Regions from separate parts of the Homo sapiens genome. Here regions 1 and 2 are each linked to region 3. The links are contacts of gene promoters, found by promoter capture Hi-C in blood cells and fetal thymus (Javierre and others, 2016). All regions are on one chromosome and are shown on one strand. Each heading gives the region's core, a stretch centred on a gene start or on the middle of the fragment in contact. The rest is flanking DNA. Distances are from core to core; before and after follow the strand shown. Region 1 has its middle 79 kb from the start of EVL. Region 2 holds the start of LINC00523 (long intergenic non-protein coding RNA 523). Region 3 holds the start of SLC25A29 (solute carrier family 25 member 29).

What was found. The method cuts DNA at HindIII sites, captures the fragments that hold promoters and counts their contacts. A CHiCAGO score of 5 or more calls a contact.
Region 1: a contact is called between a fragment that was not itself captured here and the fragment with the promoter of SLC25A29 in region 3, in 1 of 17 cell types (fetal thymus). The highest score is 5.2, in fetal thymus.
Region 2: a contact is called between a fragment that was not itself captured here and the fragment with the promoter of SLC25A29 in region 3, in 1 of 17 cell types (megakaryocytes). The highest score is 5.6, in megakaryocytes.

Annotation. Positions count from the first base shown.
Region 1 is chr14:99,984,743-99,987,442 of GRCh38, reverse strand. It overlaps a transcript of EVL not described here. Among named protein-coding and RNA genes, the nearest start is that of EVL, 79 kb to the left of the region's middle. The HindIII fragment of the contact is 8,165 bases long and covers 1-2,700 here.
Region 2 is chr14:100,656,523-100,659,222 of GRCh38, reverse strand. It overlaps LINC00523 (long intergenic non-protein coding RNA 523), which reads right to left and starts at 1,955. Exons shown (of 2, transcript NR_024096.1): 1 at 1,513-1,955. The HindIII fragment of the contact is 938 bases long and covers 958-1,895 here.
Region 3 is chr14:100,305,194-100,307,893 of GRCh38, reverse strand. It overlaps SLC25A29 (solute carrier family 25 member 29), which reads left to right and starts at 1,450. Exons shown (of 4, transcript NM_001039355.3): 1 at 1,450-1,695. The coding sequence starts at 1,662. MIR345 (microRNA 345) reads right to left here and starts at 35; the gene lies at 1-35. RefSeq lists enhancers at 470-639, 670-739, 1,948-2,514 and silencers at 830-899, 990-1,459, 1,520-1,619. The HindIII fragment of the contact is 14,672 bases long and covers 1-2,700 here.

The sequences.
Region 1 (2,700 bases), core at 195-2,694, 320 kb after region 3:
CTCAAACTCCTGACCTCAGTTGATCCACCTGCCTTGGCCTCCCAAAGTGCTAGGATTACAGGCATGAGCCACCATGCCCGGCCTCTAACCTCTTTTATAAGGACACTAATCCCATATATGAGAGTTCAACCCTCATGACCTAATCATATTCCAAAGGCCCCACCTCTTAATAATATAATCTTGGCGGGGGGTAGTATTTCAACATATGAATTTTGGGAGCACACAAACTTTTAGACCATAGCAAAATATAAGAGTTCTTTATATATTCTAGATATAAATCTCTTATCAGATATATGATTTGCAAATATTTTCTCCCATTATCAGGATTGTCTTGTCACTTTATTGACGGTACCATTTTCAGCAGAAACATTTTTAATTTTGATAAAATCCAATTTATTTATTTATTGGTCATTTGTGCTTTTGGTGCTATTTCTAAGAAACCATTGTCTAACATAAGGTCACACAGATTTACTCTTGTATTTTCTCCCATAAGAGTTCTAAAGTTTTAGTCTTCCCACTGAAGTTTACAATCTACTTTAAGTTGAATTTTGTATATGGTGTGAGGTAGGGTCCAATTTCATTCTTTTGTATGTGGGTACTTTGTCCCAGTATTTGTTGAAAAGGCTATTTTCCCCCATTGAATTGTCTGGCACTCTTGTCAAAAAACAATTGCTCATAAATGTAGGGGTAGTAAGTCCAGTTGTAGACATGCTGAATTGCACGTACTTATGCTCTATCTCCTTGGAACTAGGCTACATGTGTAGAAAACCATGTCTTCAATTCATAGTCCAGAAATCTGCACAGTGAACTCAATAAATATTTGTGCAATTATTACCATATGTGCACTTCACAGTCATGCTGCCTCATCACCCATAGCCTTGGACACTCTGAAGCATATCACTCTGATCTTGTGAAGGCACCAGCTGGTTCCCTTCCTAGCGCTGCTCCTCTAATTGGGACACTATCTGATTCAGTCTGTTGCTTACTGTTTGATTTTTCCTTAATGATACAAATTGAGGAGAGCATTTTCCTTCTTCCCAGGAAAGAAAATGCTCATAAACGGGACCCTGAAGCTGTCCTCTTAGAAATCTCAGCTGGTAGAAAGAAGCAGTGCCAGTGGATACATTTGATTTTTTTTTTTTTTTTTTTTTTGAGACAGAGTCCACTCTGTCACCCAGGCTGGAGTACGGTGGTGCAATTTCAGCTCACCACAACCTCCACCTCCCAGGTTCAAGCGATTCTCATGCCTCACCCTCCCGAGTAGCTGGGACTACAGGCACATGCCACCACGTCTGGCTAATTTTTATATTTTTAGTAGGGACAGGGTTTAGCCATGTTGGTCAGGCTGGTCTTGAACTCCTGACTTCAGGTGATCCGCTCGCCTTGGCCTCCCAAAGTGCTGGGATTACAGGCATGAGCCATCGTGCCCAGCCAATACATTTGATTTTGATCTATCAGCAAAGAGGCTCCAAGGTTTAGTATGTTTCCATTTTGTATTCAGGGTTTCATTTGTGTGCTAGGTCGAACATCTTTCTGTATTCAAGCCGAAGTTAGAGATCTAAATTGCTAAAGGACTTCAGCAGGCCAGAGCTCAGTGAAAGGAAGGTCCACAGAAGGGCCACTAATTAGTAATGAATGGCTAAAAGACAAGGGACTTTTTTTTTTTTTTCTTTCTGAGATGGAGCTTCGCTCTTGTTGCCCAGGCCAGAGTGCAATGGCGCAATCTTGGCTCACCGCAACCTCCACCTCCTGGGTTCAAGCGATTCTTCTGCCTCAGCCTCCCAAGTAGCTGGGATTACAGGCATGCACCACCACACCCAGCTAATCTTGTATTTTAAGTAGAGACGGGGTTTCTCCATGTTGGTCATGCTGGTCACGAACTCCCGACCTCAGGTGATCCGCCCACCTGAGCCTCCCAAAGTGCTGAGATTACAGGCATGAGCCACCACGCCTGGCCAAGACCAAGGACTTTTAACCAAGAAAAGGCAAGACTTACTGAAGTCCATTGTCTTCAAGCATCTGAAAAGCCAACTGGAAGAAAGACCAGTTCAAGGAAGTACAAAGGTGAAGAACCAAAACAGAAGATAAGCCCAGTCAAAATCCTGCCAGTTCCCCTAGGCCCATCTCAAATGTAATAATAATAATAAATAAAAATTATGTCGTTCATACCTCTTTTCTGACACTGCCATCTCATATGCCCCATGCTATTCTTCTTGGCTATAAACTCCTTGAGGCTTATGTAGGTCTCCATAGCTCTCTATCCCTAGCCCCACTATCTTGCATATAGTAGGTACTCAATATATATATATCTGTCAAGCAAAAATGTAAGCAAATGTGATTAAAATTAAATGAGTTAAGTCTGAGAAACCATCAGCACCAAGAGGAGCCTAAAGAGATATAACAACTTAACGTTGTTATATACAAACTAAACTAAATGTCCTGAATGGGATCCTGGAACAGAAAAAGGATACCGGGTAAAAACAACAGAAACTTTAATAAATGCTGGACTTTAATTAATAATAATGTCAGCTGGGCACAGTGGCTTATGCCTGTAATACCAGCAATTTCAGAGGTCCAGGTGGGTGGATCACCTGAGGTCAGGAGTTCGAGACCAGCCTGGCCAACATGGTGCAACTCAGTCTCTACTAAAAATACAAAAAAATTAGCCGGGTGTGGTGACGCACACCTGTGATTCCAGCT
Region 2 (2,700 bases), core at 177-2,676, 350 kb before region 3:
CTCGCAGGAGCCAGTCCCCTTTTTGCCAAGTGACTCCCACACAGACCCATCAAACTTTGCAGGTCCCCATGGGGGAGCAAACTTTGCAGGTCCCCTGCAACTGGACGGGGACAGCCCTGAGTGGTGAAGCGGGGCTCTGTGGCATATCCCCCGGCAAGGAGCCCCCCTGGCCACACCCACTGTCCAGGGATGCTGCCCCCAGCCAGACCCTCAGCCTCCTAGTCCTGGACCGAGACAGGGTGGGCTCGGGCCACACATGAGACCTCCCGTATATGTCCTGGGCTAGCACAACTGCTGGGTTGGCCAGCACTGGGCTAGGTCTGACCCCAAGATGGAATAAACAAAGGAAAATCCATGACAACTGGACTTAGCTCAGGGTGGGCCCTGCCCTGACATCCTCTCATCCCGCAGAGCTGCCCACACACTCAGGGGCATGGAGGAGCCACAGGCTGGCCAGGGGCCCAGCACCCTGGAGGACACAGAGAGGCACGGAAGTCACCTGGGCTGGAGGGGAGGAGTCAAGGCAGCCCTCCCAGGGACAAGGCCCTTCCGGCTGCAGCTGCAGAGAGGGAGGGAGGAGGAGGAGCAGGTCTGCCCTCTGTTCTGACACCAGGGGCCTTCTGGAGCTCCCCCAATGCTGCTCTCCCCATGCTCCTCCTCCCCTCCATGGCCTAGCCACCTCCCCTTTGCCCTCCTGGCTGCAGCCTCTGCTCCCCTCCCCATCCCACTTGCCTGAGCCAGCGCCACCTGGCCACATCCTGTATCTGCCCTCACTGCCACTCCCCAGGGCCCCTAGTAGCCCCCTGCTGTCCACAGGGACAGTCCCACCCCTCCCCACCGGGAACAGAGCCCAGCACCATGTGGCCCCTCAGGCTGTCCAGCTCCAGGACTCCTGTCCTGGCCACACCCTGCACTGTGGCCCCAGGTGCTTGGGGGCGTTCCCTGCACCTCCAAGCTTTAGCCACAGGTGCATCCTCCTGCTGGAAGGTTCTCCCTCCCCTCCCCACCTACTGTTCTTGCCCCAAGACTGGTCTTCATAGCCCGTCTCTGGGGCCTCTCCCCATTCCCTGGCTCATCCACAGTGAACCCCTCCTGGCTTGTCCAGACCCCACCTCACCTGGACCACAGCTTGTCACAGTTGGCCTGCATGCCAGACAGTGGCTCCTCGGGGCAATGACAGCATCTTTCTTTTCTTGAGCTTCTCTGAGGCCAGCCCAAGACACAGTTCAACCCGTGTTTGTTGAATGAATAAATGACCTACAATGGGGCCTTACCCTTTCACACCCAGGACAAAGTCATTTGCTCCCTCCAGGTTTACTTTGCTTTACTTTGCTAAACCACCACGCTTGCTCTCCTCTGCTTCACTCTTGCCTCCCACTGCCCACACCGAGTGTCCACCTTAAAGGGAACCCCAGAGCCAATGAGGGAGGCATGAAATCCTGACTTCCGACTCCTCCCCACCTGAGCTCCTCCCACTGGAACCTCCTGATGGGGCAGAAGGTTCAGGCTCACCTGAGCTGGGACCTGCCTGTGCTCCTAAGGGCATGGCCTTTCCGGCAGTTGGCTCCAAGTCACTTTGGAGAGACATTAGCATCCAGGCTCCTCTGACCCTCGAACGGGAGTTGCTTTTTGCGCCTCCCGGCAGGGAGCCCCCAGTGTCCTTGTCTTCTGGTGTCACCTGCTTCACAGCACGTCTCCCAAAATGCTTCAGAGCATTTCCATTTTTCCACGAAAGAAATGACCCGTTTCCTGGGCTCCTTTCTCCTCTGTGCCTCTGTGGCAGAGAGAGCTGCCTTTGTCGTAAAATAATTTCGGGCGCTTGCCTCTCTCTCACGCACAACTGTTCAAGGCTCTTTCCTCCGACTGACTTTCATGTCGCAAAACTCTATTAAGCTTTCATCTGCCTGGGGGAGCCGTGCCTTGAGGAACCAGGGAAGGGAAGGAGTGCTCCGGACAGTGCGCAGGGGATATGTAAATGGGTGCAGAACCCAGAGCCTGCCTCTGCCCTCCAGTCCACCCACCCGTCTCCAAGCGAGAACCGCCCTGCCTCGCGCTCCCCCGCCTGTTCTGGAAAGGGCGGTGTGAGGCAGGCAGGGCAGAGCCACCCTGAAATCCTCATCTGGATTTTTTGTTCATTCCAGTGGCAAAGAAGCTCACTCCCAGGAAACCGGGTGCATTCGAGGAAGGTGCTTTGGTGGAAAGAGCACTGGGGCAGGAGTCCAGGCCTGGGTTCGAGTGACAGCGGGTGCTGATTCCTCAGGGTTTCCACACTTCCTGGCAGGGAGGGCCTGGCTGCGTTGCCGTCTCTAATATTTGCCTAATATAGAATGGACCACTTGCTGGGACTCCACACATGTCTGAATATCCACCGCCGCAGGATTTTGTATTCCTTCTCTCTAAGAGGAACCCCCTAACTGTGTATGCTGAGATGCCACCAGGCTGGACGTCCCCATCAGAGCTGCCACATCTCCCTGCCGTGTGGCCCTGGGTGAGCCACCTTCTCTGTGTGCCTCAGTCTCCCAACTGTGTTTCCTCAGTGTTGTGAGGACTGAGTTCCATCGCAAACCACTCTCGCATGTGCCAATGGAGTGTTATGGTTTCCAAATACATGCACCCATCATGGGCTCTAATTCCCACCAAAAAAAAAAAAAAAAGCTCTGAGGTTTTCACCAGTGAGCCAGCTGATAGCAGCCAAACCAG
Region 3 (2,700 bases), core at 201-2,700:
CCTGGACTAGGAGTCAGCAGACCTAGGGTTTGGGTCTCTGCTTAACATTCTACTTAGACTCTAAAAGGAAACTAACATGAGCACTGGGGACCCCTGCCCCTAGCACCAGGCTGCACTACTGACAACACCTACCTGTGTGTCCTAGTACCAAATACACAGAACCTTTCGACCTGCACCTCCAGGAGGTAGGTACCCACTGGAATTTGGATAAAAGAACCATGTGACCCTAAACCTGGAAACGTGGCACACGGTGTGGCCTTGCCTGCCTGCAGGCCCTAAAGAAGGAAGCTGGGCCCGGCCTAAGGCTGATCTGACTCCTACAGCGAAGAGAAAGCGCCTGGCCCGTCCCTGCTCCCAGGCTCCAACCTGACAGTCTGGACCTCCAGAGGCGCTGGGGAAGGGCTGGTGGGAAGTCACCGAATGGGACGCTCCACAGGGACCAGGGCAGTCCCTTGCCACTGCGAATGTCAGGGACTCCTGGGGGGCCGAGTCAGACTCGGCTCTCATTCATCCCCGCAGCCCATGGATACCCTGGTGACCCAGAGCCAAGCACCCTCCGACTTCAGCGCCTGAGCGCGGCCCCTACCGAGCCCCTCCGGTCTCGCCCCGTCCGGCCGCCGCTGACGGAGGCGCTGCGATCTGGCCCGACTCCACTCTGCAGCCCAGTCCAGGAACCTCCCTCTCTCCACAACCTTCCGCGGCTCCCGCGACCCGCAGTCCTCGGGAAGGAGCTGTGGCCCGAAGGCCTGCTGCGCCCTTTGCCCATGGCCCCTTTCCCTTTTAAGGTTCCCTGCTCTCCGCCCAAATCCCAGCCTCAGGCTCCGCAGGAAGCGCCCGTGCGCGTCCGACCCCCAGAACCCGGCGGGTTCGGCCAGGAGTCCGGAAGCCCCGGAGGCCACCGCCGCCGCGGGCGCGCAGGCGGGACGGGCAGAGGCTCCCCACGGGCGATTCCCGCTCGCGGAGTTTCGCAACTAGCGGCGTCCCAGTCTGCGGGCCTCGGAACGTCCCGGCGCTCCACGGCCGTTTTCGCGGCAGGGTCCGCACGGCACAGACTAGGGCGCTGAGGTTCTGCGGCGGCGCCGGACTCCGAACCCAGGGTCCGGTTCCCGACCCGGTCCAGACCAGAGCCACCCCGCGTACTCCGGGTGGGGGAGTCCTCGGCTCAACCCCGCCACCCCGCGCGTCCCCTCCCGCCGGACCTGCGCACCCAGCGCGCTCTTTGTCTGAGGCGTCCCCGCGCCCCGCCCGCGCGCCCACCACGTCCCCCGCGCCCCGCCTCCCGCGCACGCCCGGCCAATGAGGCGCGGCGGCGAAGCGCAGTGCCCGGGGTGTTGTCCGCGCCGTGCCCGCCCATTGGCCTCACTCGGCGCCCCCACCCGGGCCCTGCCGGCAGGCACGAGGGGCGGGGCGCGCGGCCCGAGGTGAGGGACCGCGGGCCGGAGGGGATCCAGCGAGTCAGCTGCCGCCGAGGGACCAGCGCGGGTCTAGCTGCTGCCGCCATCCCCACCATCCCTGACCGCGCCTGCCCGGGCTCCGCGCCAGGAGGAGCGGCCAGGCCCAGCCCCGGCACCGCGCGCTCGGGGACCCCGACGGCGCCCAGCCCGGCGAGGGGCCTCAGGGGGAGGACGAGGAGGAAAGGCGGCCTCGCCGGGGACCCGGCCATGGCGCTGGACTTCTTGGCTGGATGCGCGGGGGGTAAGGAGGCGGCGGGCCGGGCCGGGCCGGGGCGAGGCGTCCGGGGAGGGAGGTCGGCCCACCAGCACGCCCTGGCCTCGCGGCTTCCCGCTGGCGGGGGTCGCCGCGTCTGTGAATGGGGACCACAGTTCTCTTGCCTCGGGCGGGTCTCGTGGGCGTAAATTGACTTCAGGCCCGGGCTGTCCGCGAGGGCAGGTGTCTTTATTCTCTCTGGGCACGCTCGGACGGGAGGTCTGGGGCGCCGGGGCAGCACCGTGGCTGAGCGGAGGCCAGGACTGCCGGGAGGATGCCCCACTGCCCCCCGCGCCGAGGTCCCGGGCTCATCTCCTTCCCCTCCCCCATCCCCATCCGTTGCGCACTGGGAGCAGGGTCCCCTCCCCCGGCCGTATATTTCGGGACTGACTCCACCCCGTCCCGCGCAGCCATCCAGCGGGGTTGGGGCTACGGAGCCGACCCCCTACTCGGCTGGCCTTGGAGGGCACTGAACCACTCTGGCGCCGAGTCACGCCTTGGAACGCCGCCCCTTCCTACGCGGTTTTGTGAGCTGTTGGGGGCGGAAGGGGGGTGGTGGGTGGGTCGGGCGAGCCGGTGTGGGGCACCTTCTCCGAGGCGCGGTCGCGGCTCTGGGGTTCCTCCCATGCAGTTGTCCCCGGGAGGGCCCGGGCGGGCGTGCAGTCCAGGCTCTCCCATGCCCCGACCGTGGGCGTCGGGCACGGCACTTCCCTGTTGGGCCTCTGGCTTCTCTGCTTTTACCTTGAGGGTTAATTTATTCACCAGGATTTAGATGTCGGGGGCGGGGGAGGGTGGTTGGCGGCGGGAGTTGCTGAGAGGGCCGGCCGCTTATCCCTGTTTGGTCCCACTTTTCTCCCAGCACCTGCCCTTGTTCACCGCCTCTTCATCTACTTGGATTTGGCTCGAATAAACCCTCAGCTCCCGGCCAGCGCTGAGAGCCCTGGCGGAAGAGTGGGTAGCGGTGGCCTTAAGTATTAAATCTGTGGCGTCGGA